4 separate regions of the Homo sapiens genome follow, and regions 2, 3 and 4 are each linked to region 1. The links are contacts of gene promoters, found by promoter capture Hi-C in blood cells and fetal thymus (Javierre and others, 2016). All regions are on one chromosome and are shown on one strand. Each heading gives the region's core, a stretch centred on a gene start or on the middle of the fragment in contact. The rest is flanking DNA. Distances are from core to core; before and after follow the strand shown. Region 1 holds the start of N4BP1 (NEDD4 binding protein 1). Region 2 overlaps LONP2 (lon peptidase 2, peroxisomal). Region 3 overlaps ABCC11 (ATP binding cassette subfamily C member 11). Region 4 overlaps ABCC11 (ATP binding cassette subfamily C member 11).

What was found. Contacts are between HindIII fragments. The CHiCAGO score rates a contact against its expected background, and 5 or more counts as called.
Region 2: a fragment that was not itself captured here is called in contact with the fragment with the promoter of N4BP1 in region 1 in 7 of 17 cell types (fetal thymus, naive CD8 T cells, erythroblasts and 4 more); the score reaches 8.3 in fetal thymus.
Region 3: a fragment that was not itself captured here is called in contact with the fragment with the promoter of N4BP1 in region 1 in 7 of 17 cell types (fetal thymus, M0 macrophages, M1 macrophages and 4 more); the score reaches 8.0 in fetal thymus.
Region 4: a contact is called between a fragment that was not itself captured here and the fragment with the promoter of N4BP1 in region 1, in 1 of 17 cell types (M1 macrophages). The highest score is 5.2, in M1 macrophages.

What each region holds. Positions count from the first base shown.
Region 1 is chr16:48,608,097-48,615,699 of GRCh38, forward strand. N4BP1 (NEDD4 binding protein 1) reads right to left here and starts at 2,084. Exons shown (of 7, transcript NM_153029.4): 1 at 1,679-2,084. The coding sequence starts at 1,876. LOC124903687 (a long non-coding RNA gene) reads left to right here and starts at 2,214. Exons shown (of 2, transcript XR_007065063.1): 1 at 2,214-2,422; 2 at 2,559-3,117. RefSeq lists enhancers at 1,215-1,264, 2,215-2,264, 2,275-2,354, 3,547-3,626 and a silencer at 1,575-2,174. The HindIII fragment of the contact is 6,560 bases long and covers 224-6,783 here.
Region 2 is chr16:48,252,771-48,260,573 of GRCh38, forward strand. LONP2 (lon peptidase 2, peroxisomal) reads left to right here. Exons shown (of 15, transcript NM_031490.5): 3 at 3,840-3,971; 4 at 5,848-5,970. Among named protein-coding and RNA genes, the nearest start is that of ABCC11, 9.1 kb to the left of the region's middle. The HindIII fragment of the contact is 2,505 bases long and covers 3,914-6,418 here.
Region 3 is chr16:48,226,290-48,233,459 of GRCh38, forward strand. It overlaps ABCC11 (ATP binding cassette subfamily C member 11), which reads right to left. Exons shown (of 30, transcript NM_001370497.1): 2 at 5,534-5,650; 3 at 4,148-4,284; 4 at 1,517-1,675. The coding sequence starts at 5,632. Among named protein-coding and RNA genes, the nearest start is that of LONP2, 14 kb to the right of the region's middle. The HindIII fragment of the contact is 4,111 bases long and covers 1,590-5,700 here.
Region 4 is chr16:48,166,365-48,173,877 of GRCh38, forward strand. ABCC11 (ATP binding cassette subfamily C member 11) reads right to left here. Exons shown (of 30, transcript NM_001370497.1): 27 at 4,525-4,603; 28 at 3,741-3,854; 29 at 1,132-1,296; 30 at 1-1,002. The coding sequence ends at 910. Among named protein-coding and RNA genes, the nearest start is that of ABCC12, 14 kb to the left of the region's middle. The HindIII fragment of the contact is 1,669 bases long and covers 623-2,291 here.

The DNA of each region.
Region 1 (7,603 bases), core at 834-3,333:
ACAGAAAAAAATAGGTAAATAAACATACATCCTTTCTTTCTGACATTCTCCGAGCGTTTTATTACTATTAATGGTTTTTTTCCGATTCTCAAGAACACGGTTTTCACCGTGTGACACAGGACAGTCTCAATCTCCTGATCTCGTGATCCTTCCACCTCGGCCTCCCAAAGTGCTAGGATTACAGGCGTGAGCCACCGCGCCCGGCCTACAATGTTTTAAGTTAAGCTTTGAAGAACTACACAGCTGAGTGCCCCGTCTCCTTTAAGGATGTGAAATGCAAACACTCACGATTTTTTGTTAAATCTAAGAACATCAGGAGATACGACTACTCAGATTCAAGGACACTGACATTACTTGACAAAGCAGGATGCAAAAAGAGGGCCCTTCCTGCCCACCCCGCAGACAGGGCTCATCATATGAGAGGCAAGTATCAAGAACGAAGGCTCTGGAAACAAACTCCCTAGGTCTGAATCCTGCTGCCCTACTTAGGAGATGGAAAAACCTAGAGAAACTTGGTTACCTAGGAGGAGCAACATACTGTGTTGCTTTTTGGTTTGGAAAGGGGGGGAAGTAGATAGAGGTGCTGAAGAGGTCTGAAATGCTGATTTAGGCAGAAGGTGAGTCACCACTTTGAGTTTCAGTTTCCCCAGCTGTTAATTAAAAAAAAAAAAAAAGGCGGGGTGGTGGTGGGGAGGATAAAATCTACCTTATTAGAAGCCATAAGGGCTGCACATTCCTTCTGAAGCAACCTGTGATGTTCTTAAGCGTTATGTAAATGTTAGTTGTAGGTAATATCAATACAAAGAATAACGCTATTTTTTGTTAACATATTAAATATCCGGCCGGGGTGGCTCCCGCGTGTAGTCCCAGCACTTTGGGTGACCGAGATGGGAGGATGACTTGAGTCCAAGAGTTCGAGACCTGCCCGGGCAACATAGTGAAATCCCCTACCAAAAAAAAAAAAAAAAATGAGCCGGGCGTGGTGGCGCGCTCCTATAGTACTAGCTACTCGGGAGGCTGAGGTGGGAGGATCACTTGAGCCCGGGAAGTCGAGGCTGCAGTGAACTGAGACCGCGCCACACTGCACTCCACTGTGGGTGACAGAGTGAGACCCTGTCTCAAATAGAAAAAAATAGGTAAACATAAATCCTTTCTTTCTGACATTCTCCGAGCGTTTTATTACTATTAATAGTTTTTTTCCGATTCTCAAGAGGAACTGAGATCCCAAAAAGGCTCAGAACTGCAGTAGTGGAGGCCCGGGACTGGGGGATAAAGGCTTAGGTGGTGGACGAGGCTGCGGGCCCAGCAACAGGCCTTGCGTACCATCCTGGGGGCCGGGGAACTGACAACAACAGGCGACATGCGCAGCGCACCCGATCCGTGCCACACGCTGTGCCTGCGCTTCATACACATCCCCCACTTTCATCCTCGCGACAGCCCTCTGAGGTAGGTACTTTCGTCAGCGCCACTTTACAAATGGGGAAACTGAGGCTCCGGGGATCAAGCCGCTATCCAAGGTCACATGGCTCGCGAGCCGAAAAGGCACGTTCGCTGGCTCCCGAGACTGCGTTCCCAACCCAGGCGCATCGCGGCGGACGGCGGGGGCGGGGAGGAGCGGGAGCCCGGAGACCCGGACCGATCGAGGCCGCGGGCGCGCGGGGGCGGCGGCCGGACTCACCTTGGCGCTGTGCACCGCCTCCTGCGCCCCGCAGAGCTGCAGCCAGATGCGCGCGGGCAGCGGCTCCTCAGCCCCTAGCGCGCCGAGCACGGCTAGGCTCACGCCAAACAGGCCCTCGATACGGCCGCGGCTCTGCTCCAGCAGCTCCGCCTTCTCAGCTGGCGCAGTGAACTCGTCCAGCACCGCCCGGGCCGCCATGGCGGGCGCGGCCTCCCGCGGCGGCGCCGGGGGCCGGCGGCGGCGACGCCCCCTCAGCTTGCTGCCGCTGCTCCCAAGCCAGTCAGGCGGCGTCGGCCCTTCCCGGCCGCCTCGCCCCCGCCCGCGCCCCGCCGCCCGCCCTCAGGCCCGGCTATACCATCCCGCCACGACCGCAGCAGCTTGGCAATTGCTGGCAGCGAACCCCTCCGCCCCTTTGCCGCCGCCGCGGGCCGGGCCCCGCCGCCGCGCATGCGCCCCGGCCGCAGCCGTCATTGAGGCTCGCCGCCCCCTAGGGGAAGGGAGTAGGGTGAAGGCGACGGAAGTTGACGTCACCCTCAGTCGCCATGTTGGTTGAGAATAAAGGGATGGTTTTGGAGGCCTGGGCGGACTTCTTTGATGAGGGGAAACCGCTTTCGCGGGATCTGGTGGATGTAGATATATGGGTTTATAGTTGGGGAAACTTAATTGCCAGGAGGCGAGACTGAGAGTGTCACAGGGATTGGACTTGACCTCAGACATCTTGACGCTCAAACCAGGATTCTAGCAGTTGAGTTATTCAGTTTCACGTTAATCCACAGGCAGACGGGACTTTTCTTTCTCTGTTTCTTCCCTTCCTCCCTACCCTTTTACCTTCTTAGCTGCCCTTCTCACTTTTTTCTCTTTCCCTTTTTATTTCTTTCAGTAAAAATGGTAGCAAGAAGAGAAGAAAATGGGCATACTTACGGAGAATTGAAAATCAAAAAAATGATTAAGATAAATTCAAGAAGGCCGGGCGCGGTGGCTCACGCCTGTAATCCCAGCAGTCTGTGGGGGCAGAGGCGGGTGGATCACTCGAGGTCCGGAGTTCGAGACCAGCCTGACCAAAATGGAGAAACCCCCGTCTCTGCTAAAAAAAAAAAAAAAAAAAAAAAAAAAAAAAAAAAAAAAAAAAAAAATTAGCGCGGCGTGGTGGCACATGCCTGTAATCCCAGCTACTAGGGAGGCTGAGGCAGGAGAATCGCTTGAACCCTGGAGGCAGAGGTTGCGTGCGGTGAGCCGAGATTGCGCCATTGCACTCCAGCCTGGGCAAGAAGAGCGAAACTCCGTCTCAAAAAAAAAAAAAAAGATAAATTCAGGAGAGTGATTTCTTCTGTGAGGGAAGAAAGGGGATATGTTATGGGAGAAGCCCGAAAAGTGGGAGTTTGGGGGCTCACTCATGATCTTCCCTGGGACTGGAGCAAATAAACCCTAACCCCTCTCCAGGTCTGTTTTCTGATCTGTAAAATAAAAGAGTACACTCAGTTATCTCTAAGGCCTTTTCCAGGCCTTTATATTCTCTGAGTCCATGAAAACAGATTGTGGAAGATAAAGTGTTGGATTCCTTTCCTTCAGCTAAATATTGTGGCTATAGTAGATAGGGGCTCTGGGAATATTACCTCTCTCTGTTTTAATTTTTCATCTATAAAATGTAGATAATAATAGTACTTCCTATTGTGAATATTAATACAGCACCCAACACTGTAAGTGCTCACTGAACATTATTATTGCTAACTTAAGCAATATATTTAAGGCCTAATTTTCAGGGAAAATCTTTGTGTGGATTATGCAACCACAGTGAACTTGTGGGCCCAGGAGTCTGTGCCATCTGTGTACATCCCTGCTAGAGGAAAAAGAGGAGGAGCTAAAGATGCTGTAGTTGGAAATACCAAGGGGGAATGGTCTCTGTAGGAGGATTTACCCAAGGTAAAACCTATGAGAGATCCAGGCTTCTGGGGGTTTCCATATGTCTCAGAAACTCAGGTGTGGTCTCCCAGTGCCCCACCAAGAAGTGATTCAGCACAGGGAAGAGAACCACTAGGCTCACAGATCAACAGATTCCTGCTCCCCTGGGCTTTTCCCTTGATGTCCACACAACCAGCAGCCTTGCTCCATCAGGTAGATGACGTGGGATTGGCTGAGGCAGGTCAGGTGGCGAGTGTGGCATTGCTGATGCATTGCTTGCAGAACCGCAGTCTATCAGTAAGGCATGTTGTCAACACAGCATGTTATTTCCTGCCTTATTGCACTCACCTTAAACGGAATTGCTATTGTTCAGTGATTAGACAGGGCTTTCCCCAGGGCTGGTTCCTGTTTGCTCCCAGTGACTTCCCTGCTTGCGATTCTTAATTGCTTAATTGTAAGAGGTGAAGAGGGAGGCTGCCTTGAAAAACACACCACAGTGCCTTCCTCTCCCCACTTCCCTCCAAAAAAATCCCACCCAAAACCAACAGAAGCAGTGCATACACACACCCTTAAAAAATGCTGGGCCAAGAAGCTGTGCTAATAAGTCACTGGGTTGGTGTATAATTGAAGATACATAGTTTTGGGAGGTTTTTCCTCCAGTTTTAATTTAAGACTTGCCAGGCTGGGTGTGGTGGCTCACACCCGTAATCCCAGCACTTTGGGAGGCCAAGGAGGGCGGATCACTTGAGCCCAGGAGTTGGAGACCAGCCTGGCCAACGTAGTGAAACCCCGTCTCTATTCAAAATATAAAAAATTAGCTGGGTGTGGTGGCACATGCCTGTAATCCTAGCTACTCGGGAGGCTGAGGCAGGAGAATTGCTTGGACCCCGGAGGCGGAGGTTGCAGTGAGCCAAGATCGCGCCACTGCACTCCAGCCTGGGTAACAAGAGCAAGATTCCATCTCAGAAAAAAAAAAAAAAAAAAGACTTGCCAGTTCATATTTGATCAGCATTTCCCTTTAGGGAACTCTCAAGGTTTCCTGAGTGTAAGGAACAAGGAGAAAGAGAGAGAGAAAAAAAAAATCCCCTTTCAAGAACTTCCTTGCTTCATGCTGTTTCTCACTCAACCACAACTTCCCTCGGTTAACCAGCCTTGCCTATCTGGCTGGCCTGACCAGCCAGGACAGTCGATGCCAGAGATGAAACCTTATGAATTCTGTATTCTAGATACTTTAGCTGTGTTTTTCCTTAATCTCATAACAACCTCAAGAGCCCATAAAATGGTATTGAGAGAATCACTTATTTTTGCTTCTCATATTTTCAAGGACAGGAGGAGATTCCTATTCCATTCCCCAGCGGGGCCAAGTGTGGAGGAACATGTCTATCTAGCTTTCATTCTCCTTTTCCCCAGAGCAGGAGGAGGATTTCTCTGACTGATAACTTTCTGAGAAGGTGGGGTGCTGGGTTGGACCGCCCTGTACCCTGGTAATGGGCTGTCTGCAGTTGCTGTGTTAGTGACTGGGGGTAAAGTATTTTCACTTCAACCACATCCTCCAGTCTAGCTCTTGTCAGCAATGATGATGACATTTTGATCTCTACCTGCTTTTCTTCCTTAGTTCTGAACTCAGAAGGGGCAGAAAGAGTGTTTATTGGTCTCCTAAAACTCCAACAGTGGTTGCTATTGTTTTTCTTCCTGTTTCAAAGATGAGGAAACCAGCCGGGGGTGGTGGCAGGTGCCTGTAGTCTCAGCTACTTGGAAGCCTGGGGTGGGAGGATTGTTTAAGCCCAGGAGTTCAAGGTGTGCCTGGGCAACATAGCGATATCCTGTCTCTTACCTGCCCCCCCACAAAAAATGTAAATTAAGGGGGAAAAAAGAGGAAACAGAAGAATAGAGAAATTCTGGAATGTTCCACAGAGCTAGTCAGTGAAGTGGTAGAAATAGCCATTTGAATCCAGGCAGTCTGACTGTAAGCAGGCAGCTTGGCTTCAAACTGCATTTTAAAACCTTGTTTTCTTTCCTTCTTTCTCCCCAGTCTCAAGATACAACTTTGAGACAAGCTGCATATGTGTTTCCTGTCATCTTGACATACAGCCTTGGAATGGACTGTGAACCTCCACTCCCTATCCTTCCCCATTCCATTCTCCCATGCCATATGCTCATTTATTTACCCAAACACTCGTCAAGCACATACCATGCTCACTTATCTGGTCATGTATTTCCTTAGAAGCCTCAGGGGCTGGATTTTTTTTTTTTTTTTTTTTTTTGCGATGGAGTCTTGCTCTGTCTCCCAGGCTGGAGTGCAGTGGTGCCATCTCAGCTCACTGCAACCTCTGCCTCCCGGGTTCAAGCAATTCTCCTATCTCAGCCTCCCGAGCAGCTGAGATTACAGGCATGCACCACCACATCCAGCTAATTTTTTTTTTTTTTGAGACGGAGTCTCGCTCTGTCGCCCAGGCTGGAGTGCAGTGGCGGGATCTCGGCTCACTGCAAGCTCTGCCTCCCGGGTTCACGCCATTCTCCTGCCTCAGCCTCCCAAGTAGCTGGGACTACAGGCGCCCGCCACTACGCCTGGCTAATTTTTGTATATTTAGTATAGACAGGGTTTTGCCATGTTGGCCGGGCTGGTCTCAAACTCCTGACCTTGGGCGATCTGCCCACTTCGGCCTCTCAAAGTGCTGGGATTACAGGCCTGAGCCATTGCGCCCATCCAGGGGCTGGATCTTGACATGGACCGTATGCCTCCAGAATTCTCTCCCCGGTCAAGGCTGAAATTTACTCCTGGCTACACTCACTCACGTTTACTCATGCTCACGCACTAGAAATTAACTGCAAGATTGGCTGAAGTTCATTTGTAACCTGGTCAGGCCCAGGATGGCACTGGCCCCTTCACCAAAGGGAACAATAATTCAAGATAAGCTGTTGGAGTGGATTGCACCACTGACCCCTCCTAGCCCCCTTCCTCTCCATTCCAAACCCCTCTCTCTTTAAAAACCCCTGCATTCCCCCCACAAATTGAAGGGTGGAAATTTTTGGAAAGAATCTCACCCACTCCTTCCCTTATTAGCATGGATAATAAAATCTCCTTATCACACTTTGCTCTTGTTATTCTGTCATTTTTGTACCAGTGGCGAGCAGACGGACCCTTTGCTGGTTACATGACTCTGCTGACTGGCCTTATGTGCTATGCCATAATGACAGCAGCAGCAAGCTTGGATATGCAGCCAGCCCCTTCTTCTGCCCTTGTGCAAAGGTAAGCAAGAGGAGAGCACATGGTCTCATGACCAACCCCTTAGTCTTGGACCTTCCTTGCCGTAGGATGCTGTCAAAACCAGACAGATGTGCACGTGGAATGTTGCTCGGCACACCCAACCAATCAGATCAGCAGACAAAGATGCTCTCTGGCCAGCAGTGTCCTGGGTTCCGTGTTTTTGGTACAATCACATGTAGGGCCTTCGAGTAAGAAACGGTTATATCATCATTCTTCAACTACACACACAAGGTTTTAATAAATTTGCAAACTGTTGAACGTCTCTCATCCCCTGTCAACAATCCAAGCCACCATCATCTCTCTGACAACCATGAGGTCTCCCCATAGCCTTTTTGGCCTGTCTGTAAGTGTCAAGAGCTACAACCAGTAGGAGATTCGGATAAATTATTTACAAATATCGATGCTGCAGCCAGAGTGATCTTCTCAAATTGCAAATCTCATCTGTCAGACCATTACTTAGGATCCTCCAAGAGCTTTCCCTCAGGGTCAGAATAAAATCCAAAGCCCTTGCCTTGAGTGGCAGCCCTTACCAGACCTGTCTCCTGCCTGCCCCACCTCTGCTCCTCTCTGCACTGGGCCCAGCTCACACCATGGCAGGGCATTTGCACTCACTGTTCCTTCCTCCTGTTTCCTTTTTTAAATTATTATTTTATTTATTTATTTATTGAAGTGGAGTCTCACTCTGTCTCCCAGGCTGAAGCGCAGTGGTGCGATCTTGGCTCACTGCAATCTCTGCCTCCTGGCTTCAAGCAATTCTC
Region 2 (7,803 bases), core at 3,916-6,415, 350 kb before region 1:
AGATCAAGCCTGTGGTGGGCTGATTTCAAGTATGGTTAAAACCTTGATTAACTAGAATGCTGGGAAGGAAGCACATTTTAGATATGCATTAAATATTTGACTCTTTAATTCTAGTTCTTTTTGGTTAACTCTAGATAGAACAGAAAGCTCCTATTCCCACCCCATTTTGTTTCAAACCTTAATGAAACATAAAATTATAAAGTATAGTCTTCTACTTTTCTATTAGTTTAATCCAGTGACTATAACTAGATCTATGAGGATCAGATAATGTTTAAAAGTCACAATTATAAATACTACTGATCATTGAAATATGTGTGGGGCAAGTGTTCATAGCCAGTGGTATTTGTATCTGATGTGGCATTTGAAGAGCCATACTTACAGTGTAATGAACAATAACAGAAAAATAGTAAATTTGAGGGCCAGGTGCGCTGGTGCACACCTGTAATCCCAGCACTTTGGGAGGCTGAGGTGGGTGGATTGCTTGAGCCCAGTAGTTCGAGATCAGCCTAGGCAGCATGGTGAGATCCCGTCTCTACAAAATGTACAAAAATTAGCCGAGTGTGATGGTGCGTGCCTGTAGTCCCAGCTACTGGGGAGGCTGAGGTGGGAGGATTACTTGAACCTAGTAGGTGGAAGTTGCAGTGAGCCAAGATTGCATCACTGCATTCCAGCCTGGGCAACAGAGCGAGACCCTGACTCAAAAAAAAAAAAAGAAAAATAGAAAATTTGAATCTGTAATTTCTATATGGGCTGAAAGAAAGCACTTTGAGGAAAGAAATTTCAGTTTGAAAACTGGAATAAGTGAATATACTGCTTAGGAATAAAGGAGATTGAGAGAAATAGAATTTCTTTTTCTTTTCAGCAGTGATGTTCCCTGGGTCTTTGTGCCTCTATTGGACATAGATAGCTTCATAGCCTCTTTTGCTTTGCTTTTACTTCTTTGTACTTTGAATCTAGAGGAACTTTTTAAACTTGTAAAGATTTTGCAGTGACATTAAAGGAATTTTTAGAAATAAATAGATCACCACACATCTTACTGTCATCATGCATCAAATTTAATTTTTGTTCGTCTTCTGGGCTCAGTTCATATTCAATTATATGTTTTGTTTTTGTATCCATGTCTGATGTTCATATTAAGTACTTTTGTTAATTTCATTGAGTTAATGTATACTAATTTTATAATTTCTCTTTTTAGACATTAAAGTTATTTCCAATTATTCTCTTTCATCCCCTTCTGCATCTACTTCTACTTCTGCATCTCTTCAATGAACTTCTTCAATAGCATCCTGTCTCCTAGTTCTTCTGTCTTGAACCTTTTCTCTTCACTGAGCCTTTCTAAAAGAAGTCTGGGGCATCCCATTCCCTTGAGTAAAAGACTTTAATGGCTATAGGATGGACACCAAATTTCTTAGTATAACATTAAGACCGTTTGCAACTTGTCTTGGGCCTATCTGTCTTGCGTCAACTCTAGTTATCACCTCACTGACACCCTAGTTCTAGCTCTACTGAATGTAAAACAGCTTCACATTGAGTTATTTTATGTCTCTATGATTCTGCCTTCAGTTCTCTGCTGGGAGTGCTCTTCCATCTCTGATTTTTTTTTTTTTTTTTGAAATGGAGTCTTGCCCTGTTGCCCAGGCTGGAGTGCAGTGGTGCAATTTCGGCTCACTGCAGCCTCCGCCTCCCGGGTTCAAGCGATTCTCCTGCTTCAGCCTCCCAAGTAGCTGGCATTACAGGCATGCGCCACCACGCCCGGCTAACTTTTTGTGTCTTTAGTAGAGATGAGGTTTCACCATGTTGGCCAGGCTGGTCTCGAACTCCTGACCTCATGATCCAACCGCCACCACGCCCGGCCTCCATCTCTGAATTTTAAAATTGAATCTATGCTTTCCCAACAGCTGTAGGCTGTTAGCGCTCATCTCTGTGTGCCTTCACAGTCTGTCATACATGTCATTTAACATAATGCTTATCACATTGTATTGAAATGTATCTTATAGGTATTTTTTCTCTACCAAACTTGAATTCACTTTTCTCCTTTAGCCATCCTGTACTGAGCAGTGTTTTGGGTCTGGCAAATAGTTTGTACTCAGTAAATGTTTGGAAAATGAGTTTTAACTGTTTTATTTTCGTGGGGTGAATTCCTAGTAGCAAGGGTATTCAAATTTTATTATCTACTTCTTCCACCTGAACAGCTTCATCGTAATTATACTTTAATTCCCTTCATTCTAGGCAGGTAATGGATAAGTTCCAAAATTACGATGTTGTTGGAGAGGTTTGAATATTACTAGCACATGAAATCTGATTTGAACTGACTAAATGAAGGTTTAGTACATCATTATGAATTAGTGTGAACTAAGTTTTGCTATGTTAACTTCTCTGAAATCTCAGTCGCATAATGTGAGTGTCTTTCTGGCTCATGCTTCATGCCTGAGACTAGTGGGGGTTGTGTCTGCCTATTAAAGTCACTCGGACCCAGGTGGATTGGAGATTCATCTAAAGACATGCTTCCCTTATCTCTAAGGCAGGAAAAGGAAATGGGGCGCATCTCTCATTGGCTTGTAATGCTTCTGCCCAGAAGGAGCTGTCACTTCCACTACGTTTCATGGATCAATTTAAGACTCATAGACACACCTATTAGTATATTCGAAGGAAGTTAGAAAGAGCAGTGCCCAGAAGAAAAGGGGAGTTTGTCAGTAGCCCTAATGACTATCACAGTTACTGAAAGTGTGCCTTGGGCATAATCTATCTTAACTCCCAGATATACGCTGACAGTTGTTTTTCTAAAAGTCATTCACAGTGCTCAGATTCTAGTTAGTCCAAATTGATATGGTTTGGCTGTGTCCCCACCCAAATATCACCTTGAGTTGTAATAATTCCCATGTGTCAGGGGGCGGTGCCAGGTGTAGATAATTGAATTATGGGGGCGGTTCCCCCATACTGTTCTCTTGGTGGTGAATAAGTCTCACAAGATCAGATGGTTATATAAATGATAGTTCCCCTGCACACGCTGTCTTGCCTGCTACCATGTAAGACAGGCCTTTGCTTCTCCTTTGCCTTCCTCCATGATTGTGAGGCCTCCCCAGCCATGTGGAACTGTGAGTCCATTAAACCTCTGTCTTTTATAAATTACCCAGTCTCTGGTATGTCTTTATTAGCAGTGTGAGAACAGACTAATACAAAATGTTATACTAAATATTAATATTTCATCCTCTGATTGGCCGTGATAATAGCATCAACTATGCTAAATTTCTAATAATACACATATTTCTAATAATATGCATCTAATAGGGTTTATATTGTGATTATGTAAGAGAATATTCTTGTTCTTAAGAACAAGGGTCCTTAATCTGTCACAGGATTAGAGATTTAAAGAATAAGGATCTCGATTCTGCAGCTTATCCTCAAATGTTCATTAATTATGTGTGAGTGTGGAGAGAGAGAAAGCAAACATGGCAAAATGCCACTTTTCAGTTGGTGAATTCAATTGGTGAATCTGGAAGAAGGATGTACAGGAGTTATTGTATGATTCTTGCAACTTTTTTGTACATTTGAATTTTTTTCAATAGAAAGTTAAAAATAATCATGGCACAGGTTTACAAAACCCTTGTAAACATTAGTGTTAACTACTTTTAAGCCATTATTGCTTTTCATTCTGATTGATGTTTTGAAAGTACTTTTCTTTTCCTCTGAGGCCTGTAAAATACGTGGACTATATTAATCAGTGATCTTTCAAAAACAAAGACTGAGGCCCAAACATTAAACCTAGATGGAAATCTGATTTTTAAAAATTCACAAATAATGCCAGATTTCATTTAAAAGACTTTTTTTCCCCCTTCTAGTTGGTTGAAATGTTGGATATGTCTGTCCCTGCAGTTGCTAAATTGAGACGTCTTTTAGATAGTCTTCCAAGGGAAGCTTTACCAGACATCTTGACATCAATTATCCGAACAAGCAACAAAGAGAAACTCCAGGTACAGTGTTCCCTTTTGAACGCCAGGTTGCTTTGTCACTTTTTATTGAGATCTAGATAGTGAGTAGTTAAGTTTTGACCTTCAAGAAAAAGATATTGGAGACCCAAAGTAATTGAAATGCTTTTACATTTAAACTGACTTTCAAATGTGATTGTTTTATATTTTTGTTGACACAAGCAGCTCTTTTATTTTATATTTTTGTTGACACAAGCAGCTCTTTTATTTGCATAATCAGTAATGGTAGTCAATTTACAGAAAAAGTTAAAGCAAAGAATCATAAAAAGGTAAATATTTGACTGGGTGCTCACGCCTGTAGTCCCAGCACTTTGGGAGGCTGAGATGGGTGGATCGCTTGAGATCAGGAGTTCGAGACCAGCCTGGCCAACATGGTAAAACCCCATCTCTACTAAAAATACAAAATTAGCTGGGCGTGGTGGTGCGCGCCTATAATCCCAGCTACTCGAGAGGCTGAGGCAGGAGAATCGCTTGAACCTGGGAGGCAGAGGCTGCAGTGAGCCAAGATTGCACCACTGCACTCCAGCCTGGGCAACAGAGACTCTGCCTCTAAATAAATAAATAAATAAATATTTAATTTAACTTAAATATGTAGACATTCTTTGATTCACTATTTTTAAACGTGGAGCCATGGCCCTTCCCTTATGTGTGGACCTGCTTTCTTAGAATCTTCATCATGTTTCTTATATAAATCACACCTATGATGCATTACTTATAATTTTAAATTTATATTTATTTAAAGTGAAATGAATTTTAAAGACACTTGAAAAGTAATCCAAGTATAGAATCCTACATTTACATGACTTAATCCCCAAACTGTAATACTTTAAGTTTTCTTGCACACTTATTTTTAAGATATTTTTAAAGCAGTATTTTTAATGAATCATCCTAGAATATTTGTTTGTTTTCAGTGAAACAGCTCTTTCATATGTTATCAGTTTATTTAATACTTAAATCCAACTGTTATAATAGCAAATACAACTAACACAAACAGGTTGGTTATACACAGGAATTCAATTAATCCAGTGGGAGTAGAAGAGTTACAGGACTGCCAGAGAGCCCCCTGGCTGTGGGCGGCAGCAGTGTGTTTTACTGCGGGAACAGAGAGCGGCCTGTGCTCCGACAAATCACTAGTGAGAGTTGGTTGAGTGCTTCTGTTCTCTTGTGTATGTAAACATTTAATATTTTGAACCTATAATTTGTTTAGATCTAATATGAAAACACATTCTGGGCTTCAAGAGAGTAATTCCCAGAAAGAGTTGACGTCAACTGTGTGTCTGGTTTTTTCATCTTAAAAACACACAGCTTCGGCCGGGCGCAGTGGCCCACGCCTGTAATCCCAACACTTTGGGAGGCCGAGGTGGGAAGATCACGAGGTCAGGAGATCGAGACCATCCTGGCTAACAGAGTGAAACCCTGTCTCTACTAAAAATACAAAAAATTAGCCGGGCATGGTGTCGGGTGCCTGTAGTCCCAGTTACTCTGGAGGCTGAGGCAGGAGAATGACGTGAACCCAGGAGGGGGAGCTTGCACTGAGCCAAGATCTCGCCACTGCACTCCAACCTGGGGACAGAGCAAGATTCCGTCTCAAAAAAAAAAAGAAAAAAAAAAACCACACAGCTTCATTTTAAAGTGAAAAACCAAGATCCTGTTTTTTCTTTCTTTTTTAAGGATTCTGATATTCATCTCAAACAACCTTGCTGATTAATATAGTTCATTTGGTTGTCTTAGCCATAGTGTAGCTTTGAATACTGTTAATAATTTTTTTTTAACTTGGCAATTTAAACCATGGCTCTGACTGTCTGTTTTTGGATTGTGTGTTTCTGAGAGAGATCCTATTGATTGACTCACATTTCCTTAGATTTTAGATGCTGTGAGCCTAGAGGAGCGGTTCAAGATGACTATACCACTGCTTGTCAGACAAATTGAAGGCCTGAAATTGCTTCAAAAAACCAGAAAACCCAAGCAAGATGATGATAAGAGGGTAAATATTTATTTTAACCCATTTCAGTTTTGAAAAAAAAATAAGGAGAATAAAGAGAGGAACAAAGAAGAAAAGTTTATTGTCTCCTACCACTCGCACTACTGATAAAATTTAGGTGTTTCCCTCTCATCCTTTTCTTTGCCTGGATTTTTTTTTAAAGCATGTAAGCATTTTTCTCACTTTGTTTTGGTTATCATCCAAAAGGATAATTTACTGAGCCATTTCCCCTTTTGTGTTGTTTCCAATGTTTTGTGTATTGTAAACACTAACAAATAACTATGATGGGTGTCTTTGAGTATAACATTTTTTTACTGCATGTAATACTAAGAAACTAATACAAAACTCTTTCTTAAAAGGACTATATGTTGTGTCAAAATTTGGCTGTTTTCAACTTATAATAAGTTTCCATTTTTATTTAGTCAAACTCTTGATCTTTTTTTGTTTTCTAAGCTTAAGTCCTCTAACCTTCAGTGGCTTGATAAATATTCACTTTCCTTTCAGTTTAATTTTAGTTGATTTTTTAAAAAGTATTTAATTCTTTAACCCATATATTATTTTGAAGACAGCAGTTGTATTTTTCCCTCAAATAGCTTTTTGTTTGACTCAACACCACTAATTAAATAATCCTTCCCATCCCCATTATCATCTATTACATTTATATGTATGATGGGATCTGTTTGAAGTCTACCTTGATCTGCTGATTTTACTATTTTTATGTCTGGACAGAGTTTATATTAGGAAGATATATTTGATGTGGACAGGATGTGAAAATGGCATTTCTCTGAAGGTGTTGAGATGCAGCGCTCTGACTTAAGTTGAGGCGTTGAGAATTATGTTAGCAATTTGACGTTCATCAGCGCAGAAGTCTTGTCATCAAAGAGAATACATTGTAGAGAAAGCGGAGCAGAAGGGAAGAACTCCTCCCCGGTGGGACTAGAGAAGGGGCAGTCAAGTAGGCTGAGGAGAGAGATAGGAACAGTGATGATCATGCTGGCGATTAGTACTCCAGGACACCATGCTGTTTAAAACATGCAGAAAGCTGGATTATTTCTGGCTTGAGATCAGGTCAGGGACTCAATTACTCATTTTGTATAGAGAGACAAATCCACTGGGAGTTGCAGAAAACTGCAACTTACTCTCAGTAAAGTTTGCCATCACTTAAAATGAAAGTTTTTCAAAAGTGCTCCAGAAAATAAGCAAGAGACAGTTATTTAAAAAGTAGGAATTAGGATAATATTTGGAGTTAACCTAAAACTCTCTCCTTTTTGTTCCCCTAAGAGTTGAAAAGCACTGTTTTAGCAGTCAGGAAGGAAAAATGCATTAAAAAGTGCTTTTGTCTTAACAATGAAATCACTGATATGCTTATAAAAATCTCACTTTTAAAAAATATATAATATGTTCAGTTTTTTATTTATAATATTTTATCTGCTGATGACTTATGTAAGAATAAAAGCATATATTTAGTACTTGTGTTTTTATAAAATTAAATTTTTATTTACTGCTTTATGTTTTAAACATTTTTATATTTGAATGTATTAAATAGATAAATTTTCCAGGTTAAAAAATAAGTTCTGGGCTGAATGCAGTGGCTCATGCCTGTAATCCCAGCACTTTGGGAGGCCAAGGAAGGAGAATTGCTTGAGGCCAGGAGTTCAAGACCAGGCTGGGCAACATAGTGAGACCTCATCTTTACAAAAAAAATTTAAAAAATTAGCCAGCATGCTGGTGTGTGTCTGTAGTCCCAGCTATTTAGGAAGCTGAGGTGGAAGGATTACTTGAGCCAGGGAGGTTGAGGCTGCAGTAAGCAGTGTTCATGCCATTGCACTTCAGCCT
Region 3 (7,170 bases), core at 2,395-4,894, 380 kb before region 1:
TTTGAGATGGAGTCTCACTCTGTTGCCCAGGCTGGAGTGCAGTGGCGCAATCTCGGCTTACTATAAGCTCTGCCTCCTGGGTTCACGCCATTCTCCTGCCTCAGCCTCCTGAGCAGCTGGGACTACAGAGGCACCCGCCTCCATGCCTGGCTAATTTTTTTGTGTTTTTAGTAGAGATGGGGTTTCACTCTGTTAGCCAGGATGGTCTCGATCTCCTGACCTCGTGATCTGCCCACCTTGGCCTCCCAAAGTGCTGGGATTACAGGCGTGAGCCACTGCACCCGGCCAATCCATTATTTTATACATAAAGACACAGGGCCCAGAAAGGGAAACTTGTCTGATATCATAGTAAGAGGTGAGATTCTGACTAATATCTGGCATTATCCAAAAAGTATTTCCTGGAACCATTTCTTTTTTTCTTACCAAATAGGTCTGAGAAGGAATGGGTCAAAGTTTACCCAGTTTCTGTACTCCATGTGAAAACATGTGCCTTCAATGTGTTAAGTTGCTTTGTAAATCTCCAACACCTGGCTATAACACAACATTTCACAAACTCCTCTGACTACTGAATGCTCTTTATGGGGAGGCTCTTATGAGACTATAATTTCCAGAACACATTTGGAAACTCATTTTCCACCTGGTATCTCTCATGAAGCAGCTAGAGGTAGGAACATGAATACAGGATCTTTAAAATCACATATTCATATTCTCCCACCTTTTGTCCTCATATTACCGTGTGTGGTGGGTGGTACAAGAAATTTAATCACACAACTAGTTAGCGGTGGCTTGAGCACTGGGAGACTGGGCCACTTACCCAAAGTAATACTCAGTGCCACTGTTGAATGCCTGATCCAGAAGAGAAAATCAAAAGGGACTAGAAGTGGTCATTTCTAACTTTCTTGGGACAGGTGTGGTGGCTCACACCTGTAATCCCAGAACTTTGGGAGGCCAAGGCAGGTGGATCACCTGAGGTCAGGAGTTCAAGACCAGCCTGGCCAACATAGTGAAACCCCATCTCTACTAAAAATACAAAAATTAGCCGGACGTGGTGGCAAGCGCCTGTAATTCCAGCTACTTGGGAGGCTGAGGCAGGAGACTCACTTGAACCCAGGAGGCAGAGGTTGCAGTCAGCCGAGATTGCACCACGCTGCACTCCAGCCTGGGTGACAGAGAAAGACTCCATCTCAAAAAAAAAAAAAAAATAGTGATAAAAATAAAAGAAAAAAATGAAAAATAACTTTCTTGGGTTCACAAGCCTTGTGGTAAGTCTGATAAGAGATGTGAATTCTTGCTCCAGAGAAAGATCTCCAGCCCGTATGTACAAAATATCCATACCATTTTAGGAGATTCATGAACCCCACGTTAAAAACCCTCACCTAGTATGAGGCCTCTTCCTACAGGAAGAGCCAAGTCGTCTGGCATGGCCCCTCCCTACCACCCTTAGGCATCTCTGGTCATTATCCCACCAAGAGATTGTCTTTTAACCTATCCACTGGTTTGCCCAGCGCAGCTTCACCTTTGGACATTTTTGTCTGAGGCATCATGGACTGACAGTGGAGGGATGGTGTTCTCATCTAAGCGACTCCGTAAGCTTTGGATCATGAGCGGGGTGAGCCATGACACGGTGAGGTAGGAGAACAGGCCAGCATTGTCCAGGGGCTGGGGGGCAGGAAACCTAGTAGAGGGGCCACAAGGATAAGAATGAATTCAGGATCAAGATTTTGCAAGGATGAATGACAACCATATTAAAACACAACGAGGTTACCCAGATCTACACACAAACATGTTTTCATGACTCTTATTTGTAAGTTGAAAATCATAAACAACAAAAGTGCCCATTAATTGAGGAATTATTTAAACAAAAAGAGAGAAATTATGATCTACCCATACTATAAAATGCAAATGCAATGTAGATGTTTGGGGTTTTTTTTTTTTCAATAAGGTTTGTTTATATGTAAAACACAGGAAGAGTTCCAAGCAAAAGCCAAAAAAAAGCCACTTGCAGATTAAAAACTCAGTATTGGCTGGGCCCAGTGGCTCATGCCTATAATCCCAGCACTTTGGGAGGCCGAGGAGGGTGGATCACCTGAGGTCAGGAGTTCGAGACCAGCCGGGCCAACATTGTGAAACCCTGTATCTACTAAAAATACAAAAATTAGCTTGGTGTGGTGGTGTGCACGCCTGTAATCCCAGCTACTCGGGAGGCTGAGGCGTGAGAATCGCTTGAACCCGGGAGGCACAGGTTGCAGTGAGCCGAGATCACGCCACTACCACTCCAGCCTGGGAGACAGCGCACGACTCCGTCTCAAAAGAAAAAAAAAACTCAGTATTTTTTTCACTTATATAAAAAAGGAAGAAAGGAGAGAAAGCAGACAAAACAGTATGTACATTTATATCACATTGCTGATAGTGGTTGACATTGAAAAAGGAGTTGGAGTTGACAAAGAAATAGGAAGAGAGGTCCTCAAGGCTTTAATTCTTCTGTGAAACTTTTACAAACAATAAAATTGAATACATAAATAATTAAAGATGATAAGGTATTACCTTTAAGAATGATTTACAAATACCAAAAATGACTAAATTAGGGTATTGGGATTATGTGTCATTTTTCCACTTTTTTTTTTTTCAAAATTGCCTTTAAGTTTATGTGTTTCAATGGGAAGAAAATGCAATTCGAAAAGAGACTTGAGGAGAAAGATGGGAAGATGAAAATGCCGAACTTATAAGATTTCTTTTGGGGGGTAGGGGAGAGGGACTATGACGTCTTTTCTCTACCCTTTCATATCCTCACAGCATTCTCAACAAGGCTGGCCACATGCCATTGCCAGGGATATTGGAGCAAGGAGCGGGTGAGGGGAGGGCAAGAGATTGTACCATTTGTGATCACAAAAGACAGGGCAAGACCTATGAGCCAGTGCTAATATCTTAAAGCCCCAACAGAAACAATATATTTATCTAAGATGAGGTTACCCAGGTGAATGAAAGTACCAAGGTTCTTTGTTCTTGGTGGAGATAACATAATTCAATATGGTAACAATGTAACTAGTATTGACAGAAGCTCAGATTTTAAAAATGGGCAAACAAATGCAGTTTGTTGATAGATAAAAATCTTAGAAAACATGTTGGAAATCAACTTGGTTACTCCCATAACCAAGGCTGGTAACTTTTTTTTTTTTTTTTTTTTTTGAGACGGAGGCTCGCTCTGTCACCCAGCCCGGACTGCGGACTGCAGTGGCGCAATCTCGGCTCACTGCAAGCTCCGCTTCCCGGGTTCACACCATTCTCCTGCCTCAGCCTCCTGAGTAGCTGGGACTACAGGCGCCTGCCACCGCACCCGGCTAATTTTTTGTATTTTTAGTAGAGACGGGGTTTCACCTTGTTAGCCAGGATGGTCTCGATCTCCTGACCTCATGATCCACCCGCCTCGGCCTCCCAAAGTGCTGGGATTACAGGCGTGAGCCACCGCGCCCGGCCGGCTGGTAACTTTAATGTGGCCTTTGAGAACCTGTCTGATCCGCTTGCCTCTGCAGCCTCACCTCATGCCACACCCACATCACACAAGACTCTCCAGTGACACTGGCCTCCTTCTTTCTCAGTTCCTGGACACATCATGCTGTGTTCCTTGCCCCTCCAGGCAAGGCTGTCCCACAGGCTGTTCCTTGATCATTCTTCTCCTACTCTTGCTTAGGAAATTCTTGTTCTCCCTCTAGGTGTCACTCAGCTTAAGCCACTCAGAACCTACCAAGTTGTCATGGTTCTCCGGTCCCTCAACACTCGCATACTTCTTCACAGCACCTTCCTCAAACAGCTTGTAATCATGTCATGCACAAGTTTATTTGCTTATTGTCTTTCTCTCCCATGTGAGGTCCATGATGGCAAAGATCACGTCTGTTTGCTCACTGTTCTTCCCCTGTGATGTAGCACAGTGCCTGGCACATGTAGGTGCTCAATGATCCTTTCTGTATGAATAAATAATGAATGAATGGCTATGACGATGTGCCTCCCTGGTGTGCCTCAGGCTGCTCTGAAGGGATTTGGCTGTGTAGGGATGTAGTTATGCAACCTTCGTGAGAGGTCTAGTTGGGAGGGTTGGGGATCATTGCCCTGGTGGATACAGCTCTCTCCCACCACCCCCATCAGGACTCACCTCGGCTTGGGACGGAAGGGAATCATGGTTCTCAAGGCAGCATCATACTTCCCCCACGGTGGGACAGCTGCCCTCCCTGGAGCCTCAGGATTTCTCTCTTGCTGACTCCAGGGGCCATCTTGGAGAGTATAGGTTTTCTTGGAAAAGAAAAACAAAAGAGCATCAGTTTCAAATCTCGTAAATTCTGTCCTGAGGGAATGTTGGACCAGCTGCCCATGGAGAAATGGATTTTTCCATATCCTGCTTCCTAAAGAAAGGCTTCCATACCGAGAATAAGCAGGGGACCGAGAGTCAGGGCAACTGGATCCCAGCACTCGCTCTGACCCACATTTGCTGAGTGAGTCTGGCCCAGTCACTCTACCTCTTTGGATTTTTATCTGACAGTAAACAATTTAGACAGGAATAAAGGGTGCCATAGTTAGTTACCTGCAGAATGAGGGACCAAGTCACTCTTTGAGGGTAAATCTACTAAAAAGAAACCAACAAGTAAAAAAGCAAATCCTAAAATATTATATGTTTCCCTTTTGACAACTAAAATAAAAGGACAGGTAATTTTTAGGACTTCATATAGAATAAATAATATATTCTATATAAAATAATACTTTTTAAAAGCACAGCAAGGATTGACAGAAAGAGATTCAGAATAGTGGTTACATCAGGTAGGAAGGGTTGGGGAATGACATGGGGGAAGACCAATTGCTGCGTGTGATTGCCAAGGTCCAAGCTGATGTATTGGTGATGGGTTTGCAGATGCTTATTATTATTATTATTAATATGAGTAAATGCATAGATAAATAGGTAATAGGTGATAGAGAGATAGATACAATCTAATCTCTATATAATATTATGCATAGAGATATGCATAAACCATGAAGGTATGCCATGATGATGGATTATAATTGATCTCATTGTGGAAGCCTGAGGTCTATTTGAAAAAAATCAAGAGTAGCTGGGTGGGGTGGCTCATGCTTGTAATCCCAGTGCTTTGGGAGGCCAAGACAGGAGGATGGAGGCCAGGAGTTCATGACAAGCCTGGGCAACATAGGGAGACCCCCATTTCTGTGAAAAATTTAAAAATTAGCTGGGCGTAGTGGTATGTGCCTATAGTCCCAGCTAGCTACTCAGGAGGCTGAGGTGGGAGGATCATTTGAACCCAGGAGGTGTCAGTGAGCTATGATTGTGCCACTGTACTCTAGCCTGGGTGACAAAGCAAGACCCTGAGTCAAAAAAAAAAAAAAAAGAGAGAGAGAGAGAGCAAAAAGAGAAAAGAAAAAAAATTCAAGGGTAAATAAGTATGGGAAGAAATTGTTTGACGTAATTTATGACCGTGGAGAATATTCTGCCAACTCAGTTTCCTGGTGTGCTGATGCTAAGAGATCTACTTACATAAATAAGTCCTGAAACCATGTCATCGCCTATGTCGATGCCACGATTCACGAGGCCACCAGAAGAGTTGGGCACCCAGTATGTCCTCTTCCTAGTCATTTTCAGTTCCTGCCAATTCTTCGTTTCCCAGAATCAGAGAATATGAAAAGACAGCAGGAGTTAGAAGAAGCTTAGATCTCGCCTTGAGCAGCCAGAAGAGGGGGCACTACCCTGCAGGGAGCATATTGGGGCCATGCAGAGGTTTGGGTGCCTGCTCTTTCCTCTCCTTAGCCTGTGCTTGATCCCTCTTTTTAAACATCTTCTCAGGCCTCAGGCCCAAATCACTTAGTGAAACCTTCTCTAACCACCCTCCCCAACCCACCCCCAACACCGCACCCTTGATCCTGGGCAATCTCCTTTGATGTATCAAACCCCTGCTCATAAAATCAGTCTTCTTGCTTTATCCCAGTCTTTAACTGTGTATTTGTTTGAATCATTATTTGTTCAGACTTCATTTATGCACTACACAGAGAGCCTCATGAGCACAGGGACATGTCTGCTTTCCTCGCTGTTGAATTTCCTGGGCCTGGAACGTGCTGGGAGGAGAGCAGGTGCTCAATAAATGAAGAATGAATGGACACATATGTGAATGAAAGAAACATCATTTTCCCTGCTTTCACTCTTGGTTTTCACAGACCCCAGAAGGAATCTGGGGACAAGTTAGGAGACTTAAATAATCAGGGTTCTTTTTTTAAAAAAAAAATATGACTTTCATATTTGTTTTTCTGAGTATGTGACTCACTCCCTGCTTGACTCAGAATATTCATGTGCCTGGGACAGGAGAGAAGGTAGTAATTAGGAATATTCTGAAGAGATGGAAAGAGAAAGTGTGCAGCAGAGCCAGGGCCATGAGGGTGCAGCCTGTGCCCCCCAGGGCCCCACACTCAGAAGGGCCCCAGGCTCAGTTGAATGCTTTTCTGTTGCCATCCTGAAATTCTTAATAAATTTGAACAAGAAGACCCACATTTTCATTTTCATTTTCATTTTGCACTGTTACCCACAAATTATGTAGTTGGTCCTGGTGTTCAGATATAGCTTTTACCATTCAAATACTGAGGCTGGGTATGATGGCATGCACCTGTAATTCTAGCACTTTGGGAGGCTGAGGCGGGAGGACTGCTTGAGCTCAGGAGTTTGAGACCAGCCTGGGCAACATGGCGAAACCCTGTCTCTACCAAAAATATAAAAAATTAGCTAGACGTAGTGGTGCACGCTTGTGGTCTCAGCTACTTAAGAGGCTGAGGCAGAAGTATAACTTGATCCTGGAAGGTGGAAGTTGCAATGAACTGAGATTGTGCCACTGTACTCCAGCCTGGGCAACAGAGCAAGACCCCATCTCAAAAAACAAAACAAAACAAACATTCAAATATTGGATTGTACTTCAAGCAAATAGACTGCAAGCTAACCCATTACTTTGTGAGAAGTTACTCTAGATTTCTTTGTCCCACTCCTTCCCATCCCACTTCCTTTTACCAAATCACAACCAGATCTGGTAGAGTCAGTTGCTGGAATTTTCCTACAGACCATATAAGATAGGCTTCCCAGCCAGGGCACCAGGCCATAGGCTTACTTGCCATGTAGTGGTAGAATGTGGACAC
Region 4 (7,513 bases), core at 207-2,706, 440 kb before region 1:
GGCAAGAGGAAGTTAGAAAGTGAAGCCAAACAAAGGAAAGCAGAGCTAGGAGAAGAGAAACAGAGACCTCAAAACAGGCATCCTTTCATTCCGGCACCCAACCTTGAACTTTTTCTGTATCTTTCTGTTACAAGACCAACAAACTCTTTTTTTTTTCCAAAGTTAGTTTGAGGGAGTCTCTGTTCCTTGCAACTGAATAAGTACTAGCTAACGTAAAAAGCAGAATGAAGATGGCTGGGTGCAGTGGTTCATGCCCATAACCTCAGCACTTTGGGAGGCCAAGGCAAGCGGATCACTTGAGATCAGCCTGGCCAACATGGTGAAACCCCGCCTCTACTAAAAATACAAAAATTAGCCAGTCATGGTGGCACATGCTTGTAATCCTAGCTATTCAGGAGGCTGAGGCAGGAGAATTGCTTGAACCTGGGAGGCAGAGGCTACAGTGAGCTGAGATTGCGCCACTGCGCTCCAGCCTGGGCAACAGAGCAAGACCCTGTCTAAAAAAACAAAAAGAAAAGAAACGAAAGGAAGCAGAACAAAGAAAGTGAGTTTTCCTTAGTTTTATATTTTACAAAGTCAGTACAGCATTTGCAACACTTCTAACACAGATCAGAAAACTATAAGCTTTTACCTTATTATAAAATTATTCAGCATGTAAGTTAAAAGGAGAACCACATGATCACTGAATCCCATGTCTTAGATGGTTCTGGGGTTCTAAGGTCTTGAGAGCCATCAAGTAGCCTATTCCAGGGTTTCCATCCAGCAATCCCCACCCCCCCTACATTTACCCCTGCTTCCAGGAGAAGTTCTCATCTCCAAACAAGAAGGTCGCAGACTGTGGGCCTCGAAGCTGCACCTGTGTGAACCTCTGAGCTCAGCTGCCAGCCTCCATGAAGTCTCCACATCTCCTTATCTCAGTGAAGAAGTGGCTGTGGCCATGAGGGCTGCGAACAATGACCCAGGCTTCTTCCGCAGTACCTCCGGCCGATCAAATTCTACCACCTGGAGGGTAGAGAAAGGCGAGGGGAGGATCAGGGCACAGCTGAGCTTGTGTCCTTGGAGGACTCAAAGGCATCTGGGGTAGCAGCCTGAGCCCTCATCCTCCCACCAGCCCAAGGACGCAGCCTTCACCTTCCCATTGCCCATAACCAGGATGTGGTCACAGTTCAGCACAGTGGTGACACGGTGGGCAATGACGAGCACGGTGCAGCCCTGGAAGGCTTCACGGATTGTGCGCTGGATCAGGGTGTCTGTCTCCATGTCAATGGAGGCTGTGGCTTCATCGATAAGGATGATCTGATGAATACAAAACAGGGGTGAAGGTGTCTACTTCAGGCCCTAGAGACCTGGGTCTAGCCCTGGTTTACCACTAATTCACCAGGGCCCTTCCTCTCCAGGTCTCCATTTCTTTAGCTGGGAAATGGGAGAATTATGCCGAGTGCAAAGCCCGCTCTGATTGCTGATTATCCATTACCTTATGAAGAGAACGTTAGGTCTCAACCAGGAGCTAACTGCATTTTAGTGGCCAGAGAATTAAGTTCTTGGAAATGAAAATGGCCTAGTGGCAACTTCTTGTTTTATTAACTACTTTCCCATTTACCGAAACTAAAGTAGAGCGGTGTTCTCCAAGAAGGGGCAGGCACACACCCCAGGAGGCACATGAGATGATTTCTCCAGCATATGGATAAACATTCTTTTTAGTTTAACATTTTTGTATTTATTTCATTAACGATATGCATGAGGAAACTGTAACTCACACTGAAAGTGTGATTTCACAAATGGCACTGCTTGGGATGAGGCTGTTTTTGAAAAGGGAGTATCATTAGTAAATCACAGGGTAGGTGGTACCCAGAGATGACAAAAATCATAAAGTAATGACTCAAATTTGGGAAGCAATACAGAGGAAGCCATTGCAGCACCAAATGGCTATGTAATTGAAATAAGGAAGTGTGAAGAAAGTACTACATGTACTTTGCAAATTTGTTGTTCATCTCTCCAAAGAAGAGGGGGAAAGTCCTACCTCCTCTGAAATTTTCCCAGGCTTTGGGCCCCACTGAGCTCTTTTCCCACAGCTCTGACAGTTTGCACCAACAGTTTTTGCATTTATCATTAATTAACCATGATACATGTGTGTGAGCATGCATACATGTGTGAGTATGGAGAAGGTATGTGCATATGCATGCATAAGTATGTGTGTACATGTGTGTCTTGCCTCGCCTACGTAGGAGAAGGTTTGCCCCAGGCTATCTCACATACTCAAACACCTGAAATTATGGACAAAATATCTAGAAAGCTTCTGGAAGCCCTGTTCCGCCAAATTTTTAAAAATATGCAATTTTGCAGCCATAAAAAAGAATGAGTTAATGTCCTTTGCAGGGACATGGATGAAGCTGGAAGTCATCATTCTCAGCAAACTAACACAGGAACAGAAAACCAAACACTGCATGTTCTCATTCACAAGTGGGAGTTGAACAATGAGAACACATGGACACAGGGAGGGGAACATCACACACCAGGGCCTGTCAGGTGGTGGGGGGCAAGGAAAGGGAGAGCATTAGGACAAATGCTTAATGCATGTGGGTCTTAAAACCTAGATGATGGGTTGATGGGTGCAGCAAACCACCATGGCACATGTGTACCTATGCAACAAACCTGCACGTTCTGCACATGTATCCCAGAACTTAAAGTAAATTTAAAAAATATATATATATGCAATTTTGCCCTGGATCAGCATCTGTCATCCAATTCCCAGTTCTAATAAAGATAAAAGGGATGTACTGCATCCAAGTTTTTAAAACAGTATACAGTAGGCAATTTAAAAATCAACGAGGGTCTAATGTGTTGTGTTTTTCTGAGAAAAGAGGATCATCATTTGGTCTAGTTGGAGACATTTCAGCTCAGGTGTAAGGAATCCGCTATCAGGCAGCCTAGGCTGTGAATCTCATCTACCATGCCTCACCCACACCACAAATGCATGTGGAATGGCACTCAGTGAAATGAATAAGCCCATCTTGAATTAATTTTTGTAGAAGGTGTAAGGAAGGGATCCAGTTTCAGCTTTCCACATATGGCTAGCCAGTTTTCCCAGCACCATTTATTAAATAGGGAATCCTTTCCCCATTTCTTGTTTTTGTCAGGTTTGTCAAAGATCAGATGGTTGTAGATGTGTGGAAATAATTAAGAAAATATGGCACATATACACCATGGAATACTATGCAGCCGTAAAAAAGGATGAGTTCATGTCCTTTGTAGGGACATGGATGAAGCTGGAAACCATCACTCTCAGCAAACTATTGCAAGGACAAAAAACCAAACACTGCATGTTCTCACTCATGGGTGGGAATTGAACAATGAGAACACTTGGACACAGGGTGGGGAACATCACACACTGGGGCCTGTCGTGGGGTGGGGGGAGGGGGGAGGGATAGCATTAGGAGATATACCTAATGTAAATGACGAGTTAACGGGTGCAGCACACCAACATGGCACATGTATACATATGTAACAAACCTGCACGTTGTGCACATGTACCCTAGAACTTAAAGTATAATAATAAAAAAAAGGAAATGAATAAGCCCTTTGGATTCTGTTGCTGTTGTTGTTGTTGTTGTTGTTGTTGTTAAGACGTACACCACAGAGCCCAGTGTCCCACGGTAGTGAAGGGAGAGGGAGCCGGTGTGGCTTCCCTCATCATGCGTAGTCTGTGGCTTCCCCTGGCCACACGGCAGTGGTGGCCTCACCTTGGAGTTGCGAAGCACAGCCCTGGCAATGCAGAGCAGCTGCCTCTCCCCCACAGAGAAGTTTCCACCGTTTTCCACCACATCTGTATGCAGCTTTTTGGGGAACTTTGAGATCTGCGATATGGGAAGAAGAGACAACATAACCTGGAAGCCACTGTGGGGTGAGACCCAACCTGACCTTGTCAATCTTCCGCTGTATTGGCAACACTGCCCTCCTCTCTCTACGCTCCAGCCTCTGTTTTCTTGCTCCTTAACTGCGCCTTGCTCACTCTCGTCTCTGGGCCTTTGCATACGCTAGCTCCTGTGCCCAGAATGTCCTCTCAAAAGATCTTTCATCGGCTGCCCCTCAGTTCTTGGTCTCAGCTCAGCTGCCACCTGTTTAAAGAGACCTTGCCTGGCCACCCAATTGAAAAGAGCTGCTCCTGCCCTGACGTTTCTATGGGTCTCATGACTACCTATACAGCCCTTACCAGTATCTGAAAGTATCTCCTGCATTTACTTGTTGCCTTTATCTCCTATTGAATGTACGTACCAGGAGGACAAAGACCTCATCTGCCTTGTCTTTGCTGTGCCCCTGAGCCTAGAACAGTGTCTGGCACACGGTTGGTGTCTGAGTGCCATCAGCCTTGACTTAGGAATGCCAAGTCATCTCATCTCCATGAGATGATGCATCCATGACCCGAAGCAGCAGCAGCTGGAACACCACATGAGAGGAGCCCCAAAGGGGCAGCCCCCCATGGGCGATGCAGACTTAGACCAAGACTTGGGCCTTGGAGCTACTTACGGCCTTGGTCAGGAATGTCCTCTCCAAGGCATCCCAGATCTGCTGGTCAGTGTGACGGTCAAAGGGATCTAGGTTGAATCTACCATATGAGAGAAAGAGAAGTGTTCAACAACATCACCCAGGCTTTGAACACTCATTTATATGCCCAGTGAATGACCAAGAATGTTTAGAACTGGATTATGGGGTTTAGGGAAATTCATGGAACCACCACAAATGGAGATTTTTTGTGCCTCCCAGCACCTGTTCCTTCTGCAGGCAGCAGGCCCAGGTTTTGTTTAGGGGCCACCTCCTCCCCAGTCCCCCAGCCCATGTGTTCCAGGGCAGGCTCCACCATCCACTCCTGATGGAGCAAAGGGCTCAAGGATAAGCCAATCGACATACAGCAATCCCTGGCCATGGTGCTTAGCTTGGGGTGGGAAAGTAACCAATCAGAGTGTATCTCAGGACTTTTCAGGCTACCATGGGAGACGTGCGGAGAGATTGCAACCATCCTCCCACAGGAGTGGGACACATGGAGCCCCCCAGGGCCCTCATGTGGAGTTCAGAATGAAGCAAGGCAATGCTAGGGGAAAACCGGGCCCTGGAACTCAGCCTTGGCCTCCCCATTATCATGCATGAGTCATTAGAGGCCACTTTTCCTTAAGCCATTTGGGTTTTGTTTTATTGTGTGATAGAAAGTACATAATATTTATCATTTTAACCACTTAAAAGTGTACAATTCAGCAGCATTAAATACATTAATAATGTCATGTAACCATTACCACTATTTATATCGAAACCTTTTTCATCATCCTGCTGGGCATGGTGGTTCACACCTGTAATCCCAGCACTTTGGGAGGCTGAGGTGGGCAGAACACTTGAGGTCAGGAGTTTGAGACCAGCCTGGCCAACATGGTAAAACCCCACTCCACTAAAAATACAAAAATTAGCCAGGCACAGTGATGCAAGCCTGTAGTCCCAGTTACTCAGGAAGCTGAGACAGAAGAATCACTTAAACCCAGGAGGTGGAGGTTGCAGTGAGCTGAGATGGTGTCACTGCACTCTAGCCTGGGTGACAGAGTGAGACTCGGTCTCAGAACAAAACAAAACAAAACAAAACAAAACTTTTTCATTATCCCCAACAAAAACTCTATACCCATTAAACAGTCTCTTCTTCCCCCTCCCCACCAGCCCTTGGTAACTTCTATTCTACTTTCCATCGATATGGATTTGCCTATTCCAGCTACCTCATATAAGTGGACTCATGTAGTATGTGTCCTTCTGTCTGGCATCTTTCACTTCGTGTCCATCCATATTGTAGCATGTAACATTTCCCTTCTTTTTAGAGCTGCATAATATTCCATTGTATGTATATACCACATTTTGTTTTTCCATTCATCTGTTTATAGACGTATGACTTGTTTCCACCTTTTGATTACTGTGAGTAGGGCTGCTCTAAACACTAGTGTACACATATGGGTTGAAGTCTCTGCTTTCAACACTTTGGGATATATAACTAGAAGTGAAATTCCTGGATTACATGGTAATTCTATGTTTAACTTTTTTTTTTTTTTTTTTGAGACAGGGTCTCACTCTGTCTACGAGGCTGGAGTGCAGTGGTGCAAACACAGCTCACTACAGCGTTGACCTCTTGGGCTCAAGCAAGCCTCCCACCTCAGTCTCCTGAGTAGCTGGAATTGCAAGCACAGACCACCATGCCCAGCTAATTTTTGTTTACCTTTTTGAGGAATTGCCAAATTGTTTTCCATGGTCTCTGCACAATTTTACATCCCCACTGGCAATGCATGAGAGTTTCAATTTTTTCACATCCTTGTTAATAATACTTGCTATTTACCTTTTATTATTGTTATAGCCATTCTAGTAGGTGTGAAGTGGTAGCTCATTGTTGGGGGGCTGGACTTTCTGTTTCTTGCAGTGAAAAGAATCCTAACATCCAGGTAACTGACATGAGAGAGGGAATCTATCTGGACTTTACACCCAGCAAGCTTTACACTTGCATCTGGAACAGGCAGCACTATAGACACTTCCCTGCTATGCAGCCATGTAGCCCTGAGTGAAACCTGTCAACCTTGCTTTATCCTTCCCCAGTTGTGCCAGCCACGCATATCTTGTGTGTAGGGCTAATGTGTACTAAAGAAGAGGCAGGTCTTATTTGCATGACATTTGATATCTCCAAAGCACTTTCATAGATGGGTTATTTGACATTTTCTCCTCCATGAGATGGGTATACTCCTTTCTTATCAGTTTTAAATGGCTTGTTCAAGGTCACGCCACAAGCCAGTATGAGAGCCAGGCTGGCATCAAGACATTCAGAGAGATGCTTAAGGGTAGAGCCTTAAGTTCTAAGGTAGGATTTCAAGTCCACATTTCTTTCTACAGAAAGAGGTGGGGGGAAATATCACAAATTATGGGTTTAGAACACCTAGGGTTATATCTCATGTTCGCCATTTCTTTGTGTGTCTTTAAACAAGTCCCCTTCCTCTCTAAGTTCCGTGCCTTCATCTGTAAAATGGGGATAATGAAGGGGCCTCACAGTGTTGCTGGGAGAGTTAAATTAGGCAGTATACTAAAGCATTCAGTTGGCACATATAAATGCTCAATAAATGTTAGTTCATATTTTTACTACTCTTCATATCAACGCACAGGAGATTTGGCCACATTCTACTGTAACATAGAAATCTATCACTAAATGTCTTATCATTCCCCTAACACAACCATTTTTTTGTTGTTTTGTGTGGGGGCGGGGAAGGTTTTGAGACAGAGTTTCCTTCAGTCACCCAGGCTGGAGTGCAGTAGCACGATCTCGGCTCACTGCAACCTCCACCTCCCGGGCTCATGCGATTCACGTGCCTCAGCCTCCCGAGTAGCTGGGATTACAGACATGCACCACCACATCTGGCTAATTTTTGTATTTTTAGCAGAGACAGGGTTTTGTCATGTTGGCCAGGCTGGTCTCAAACTCCTGGCCTCAAGTGATCTCCCTGCCTTG